Regions from separate parts of the Homo sapiens genome. Here region 1 is linked to region 2. Evidence: promoter capture Hi-C in 16 types of primary human blood cells and fetal thymus (Javierre and others, 2016). All regions are on one chromosome and are shown on one strand. The core of a region is centred on a gene start or on the middle of the fragment in contact, and the rest is flanking DNA. Distances in the headings are between cores, read along the strand shown.

Region 1 (2,760 bases), core at 74-2,573, 160 kb before region 2:
AGTTTTTGACTTGGCTTTCAAATCACAAGCCCTGCCCCTTCCCCATCATGTGGGCGGAAATTAGTTCTCAGGCCCTGCTGCCTAGCTTAGTTTCTTCTCTGCCTCAGATTCAACATCTGTAAAATGAGAATTACATTGTTAGGAGGGGTTAGGAGTATTAAATGTAAAATGTGTAGAACAGGACAGGACCCTGATACTGTTTCCTCATCCCTGTCCCCCATTCTGGATTTAAGGGTGCCCAGAAAATGATTTGCTTTCTTCCAAAGAGCTTTTAAAAATAAGTTCCTGTGACTTCTTCAAGTGTGTTAAAAAAAAAGAAAAAGAAAAAGAATATTGGATGACACTCAGTAGCCAGTGTTCCTGTCACTGTTATCTGCTTATGAAGAGGAAATATGCCAAAGTGCCGGCCCACCTGCCTTCCTCTTTTACCCCACTTCCACCCTACCTACTGTTAACATACCCCAGGCCACAGTCTCTTATTCACAAGTCAGAGTACAAAAATCTGAAAGCCAAAAGTATTTTATTCAAATTTGGTGGCAAGATCTAACACTAGGCTTTTCATAATCTTTATTTTTCACGCTTAATATGTATACAATTTACTGCTGATTGATATATTAATGGTTGATTATGGGGAGCTGTCCTAGATTCTAAGGGGATGGGATTTCATATGCAAATGTGAACAAAGAAAGTTAGTTAGGGCTTCTAAATTGTTAAAAAAACAATTTGTGGCATTATTCTACATAAGCATTTCTAATACTATAGGTTTTATTTTGTAACTCAACTTTAAGCTTTCTTTAACTAAAACTCATCTCTGAAAGTTTGTTGTATGCTTTCCGGTCCTTAATAGTTGCCAAAGCAAAGGGTTTGCAGTCTCTTTTAAATGTATGACAGCAATCCATAGTAAGAAGTACGGTTTTCTTTATTGGGATCAAGTCCACCCATTTGACTCTGTATGTGAAATAAAAGTTTAATGAATGAATATTCCTTTGTGCAAAGTGCTCTGAGGTTTCCTAATTTATTTTAACAAAGACAGCTAGCCCCATACTATAAAAATGATTATGGAACCTGCATTTTGAAAAATATTGTTGTTTTTGTAATTGCTAAATCTGGTTTTCATTATATCAAAATTTTTCTTTTTTTAACTTTTTCAGGTTCTGGGGTACATGTGAAGGTTTGTGACATAGGTAAAGATGTGTCATGAGGGTTTCTTGTACAGACTATTTTATCACCCAGGTATTATTCTATGTGTAAGTTTGAAATTTTTCATTATAAAAAGTTAAAAAGAACAAGAAAAGAGTCAAGCCACAGACCAAGAGAAAATATTTTCTGATTACCTGCCTGATAAAGGACTTGTGCTGCAAGGTTTGTAAAGAAATATCAAGACTCTATAACAAGAAAATTAGCAATCAAATAAGAGAAAAGATTTGAACCACACTTCATTAGACAAAATATACAGATGGAAAATAAACACACAAAAAGTTGCTCAACATGAATAGACATTGGGGAAATGCAAATTAAAATCACAATGAGAAATTGCTTCACACCTATTATATTGTCCAAAATTGGTGAGAATGTGGAGGAACTGGATCTCTCTTACACTGCTTGTAGGTATGTAAATGGCTACAATGAGTTTGGAAAACAGTTTGCTTATTAAAAAGTTAAACATACATCAGATGTATGATACAACTATTCCACTCTTAGATATTTACCTAAGTTAAATATCCATATCCATGTAATACTTGTACCAAAGTTTCATAATAGCTTTATTTGAAATACAGAAGTGGAAAAACCCAAATGAGGGTGATTGATGTTTGTTATCTTGATTATGATGTTGGTTTCACAGCTGTATTCATTTGTAAAAGCTTATTAGACTGTGTACTTTACATTTCAGTTTATTATATGTCAATTACAGCTCAACAAAATTATTAAACAATTATTCCTGTGACACATTCATAGGATTAGTAACTTTTGGTAACTTCTGAATTAGACCTCTCTGGACTGTCATGACCTCATTGGCTATCCTCTGAGCTATTATTCAACTCAAATTATGTCAAGAACTATGCATGGCATTAAAGAAAAGTATGATAAATACATGCAAAGTTGATAGAGGAATACAGGAAAGGAATGCTTTGGCCAAACTTGGCAGGTCAGTAACATCTTCCTAGTATGGAAAACTCTAAACTGAGAGCTAATGGAGTCAGTCAGACAACTATTGGCGAGATTAGAGAGGCGTTTACATGCAAAGGGAACAATGTGTATAAATGATCAGTGGCAAAAGAGAGAATGGGACCTGGGGGAATACAGTGATTCAACATGACTGAGAGAATGAGTGTCAGGGAGTGCGGGCAGGTAAAAGAGGTCAGATCATGAAAGACCCCATGCCATCCTAAGGAGTTTCTGTCTGCCACCAAGAGTAATAGACTGCACAGAAGGGTTTTTATTAGGGATAAAGTGTGTGAGATGTTGTAGAAAAAAAAAACAACAACAACACTCTTCAGTGACTAGGATTGAAGGCAAGACTAGATGTAGGAAGTGCAGCTAGGAGAGTTAAACAATGAATCATCAAATTAAAGGGTGATAGGAGCCTGAACCGAGATAGTGAATGTGGGATTTGAAATATGGATAATTTGAGAGTTATTTCTTGGTTTCTGTTGTGAGAATACAAGAGGAGAGTAGTTGAATGGATAGGTTCAGTTCTGAACACTTTGAGATGCCTGCAGAACTCCAAGAAGATGTGTGACACAGGGAAGCTGCTTCAAA
Region 2 (2,700 bases), core at 70-2,569:
AGCCTGTACTCGTTGAAAGGGACAGTGAATTGTTGCCCACCGGATCTATCTCTGATTTCAGAGTGTCTGCAAAAAGACAGCTCCTTCCTCCTGTAGGCACAGGGGCACTCTACAACTCAGGCTTGCTAACTCTTCTTCTTCTATTAGACATGCACATAGCAAAGACGCCAAACCCCACGCCAAGAGACGCTCACCTAAACGAACTTTAAGAGCTATCAGGAAAAATGCCATCTATCATCCGTCTACACACGACCGTCACCATTCTCATCCGTCTACACACGACCGTCACCATTCTCTGACACAGAACCAAAGTGTCACAGGCGGAATCCACACTCACGCGCGCACACGGGGCACGCACCCATCACGTCGGCAGATCTCCAACGACTCGGGTTTCTCTCACCCACCTTTGGATGGGAGCGAAGGAGTCAACCCCCCTTCCCTTGCGTAGTATTTTTTCTGAAGAGCGAGTTCTATTCCAGAAGCTATAACTGTTTCCCGGTTGGACCAAGCGGTGAAAGTCTTTGCTATTGTGTTACCTGGTAGGACACGTCCAGGATCAACATACCATTTCTTCTGAGAGGGACGCATAAGCGTGTTCACAGAGACACGCGCTGGGACCCCCACCTCCACACAGAGTTCAAGGCTCACACACACACACACGGAGTGTATAGAGAGACCTGCATCCCTGCAGCAGAGGGTCGGGCGTACATACTGCCCGTGAAACCATCCAGTCTGGCCCAGAAAATCTCCCAGAGAAATACTGAGCTATCCCCTCTCCCTTCCACCACTAGGCAAGAGCTGGAGAGAAAATTAAGTGGTTAGAGAATGCTTCTTCCCCATTCCTGGAGCACTTAACATCCCCCCGCCCCCCGCTTCACTCCTCGGCACACAGCGCACTAATGAGCCCCGAGCATTTAAAACTGCCGCAAAGCATCCCAACAAACCTCATTTTTTCTTCGCCCCAAATCCAAGTAGACTGCAGGGAGTAAACGCACAGGGTAGCAGGAGCCAACGGCCGGAACCTTATAACCCTACCTGCTGTAGCTCCTCCGTCAGCATCGCATCTCTATCTTTCTGTCTCTGTCTCTCTCTCACACACACACAGATACACACACACAAACACACACACTCACACTCACACAAGCACCGCCTTACAATCCTCCACCTCCAGTCCCGGGCTCTCAGGAGTAGTCGCGGTGACTTCCACTTACTTCATAAATAAGTGTATTCCTCCACCATCTGGCGCTCCTCTTCAGCTATGGACTCGCACATTCAGCCCCCATTCACTCGGCTTCATTGATCTCCAGCAGCAACATAGTTACTTTCTCTTTTGCTACACTGTAAATGTAAGGTTCTGAGGGGGCGGACTCGCCGCCGACCGACGGCGGGTTGGGCCAATAAGAATCCGGAGAAAGCCGACCGCTACCTCACAGAGCCCCGCGACCAATGGGCAGCCTAGGGGGCGGGTAAGAAGGCGTGGCCTCATCTCTTTAAGGAGGGTTTATCCGAAGCTGCTCTGGGTCCTCGGTGTTAAAACACGGGCGGTGATGTCATTGGCAACCAATCAAAAACTTAAAAGAGCCAGCCGGGGCCGCGCGGAGCAGCTGCTCTCTATTTACATGTAAACCGAACCGGCAGGATGCAGTTAACCCTTTACCAGGCTGAAGTGTCAGCGGGCTGGACGCGCTGCTCCGCTAAAACTGGCTCTTCCCACTGGACGGGATCCTCCAACACTCCCTCACCCGGGGACAAACCACGCTATTTTTCCTCCTTACTATGGACAGATGATCAAAAGTATCGGAGTAACTTTCTAAAGGAAAGAGACTGCGATCACCGTCCCTAGTGGGAAAGCCGGGTTCTCTCCGAGTCGCTCGAGGTGACTTGACAAACGCTAAGCCAAAATTCGCGGACCTCGCCGGGTCTTCTGCGCTAGGACCAGCATGAGCGCGCAGCCAGGGGCGACGCTTCCGCTCCGAGCCGCGGCCCGGGGCCACGCGCTAAGGGCCCGAACTTGGCAGCTGACCGTCCCGGACAGGGAGGCCCTTCAGCCTCGACGCGGCCTGCGTCCTCCGGAGGGCCCTGCTCCGCCCGGGAAGCGTCCGCCTCCCGCCCGCCCGCCCGCAGATGTCGCTGCCCCTCTGGCTGTCCCGGCCTGACCGCCGCGCGCCGCCCTGCTGCTCACCTACTTCCGCGCCACGGTCACGCCCCTGCCGTCCCCAGGCTAACCCTCCCGGGGCTCGACCCAGAGCACTAAGGCGGCGCCACTGAGGGCTGCTCGGAGGAGGAGGCTTGAGTCGACGCCAGAGGCGGCAAGGGACGCGCCCTGAGCAGCGGTGCAGAGGCCAATCCCCTGGCCGGGCGTCCTGGGGCCCGCTACGCGCCCGCTGCCCCTCCGGGTCTGGGTCCCCGCCCGCCGCCGCCCCCCTTTCCCGCCTGGCGCGCTGGGTCCCCGCGCCGTGCCAGCAGCGCGCAACCCACCCGCCCCACATGCCTCGGCCGCCACCCCTCGGTCCCGCACGGCCCCTGCCGAGGCCAGGACCGGCAGCCCGGCGCTTCTGGAACAGCCGCAGCTGGCGGAAAAGAGCCAGAGCCGAGTGCAAATAGCTAGATTGAATGGGGCCGGAGGAGCGTGGAGGAGGTGACGCCGCCTCTCCCCGCTCCCCTGACTTTGGCCGGCGCCAGGTAGCTGGCCGCAGCTCC

Evidence for each region. Contacts are between HindIII fragments. The CHiCAGO score rates a contact against its expected background, and 5 or more counts as called.
Region 1: a contact is called between a fragment that was not itself captured here and the fragment with the promoter of DUSP10 in region 2, in 1 of 17 cell types (total CD8 T cells). The highest score is 6.6, in total CD8 T cells.

The regions. Positions count from the first base shown.
Region 1 is chr1:221,581,588-221,584,347 of GRCh38, forward strand. No RefSeq gene overlaps it. Among named protein-coding and RNA genes, the nearest start is that of DUSP10, 160 kb to the right of the region's middle. The HindIII fragment of the contact is 1,074 bases long and covers 787-1,860 here.
Region 2 is chr1:221,740,770-221,743,469 of GRCh38, forward strand. DUSP10 (dual specificity phosphatase 10) reads right to left here and starts at 1,320. Exons shown (of 4, transcript NM_007207.6): 1 at 1,212-1,320. RefSeq lists silencers at 307-356, 2,077-2,556 and enhancers at 390-1,027, 1,028-1,665, 1,137-1,326, 1,657-1,856, 1,666-2,303. The HindIII fragment of the contact is 7,400 bases long and covers 1-2,700 here.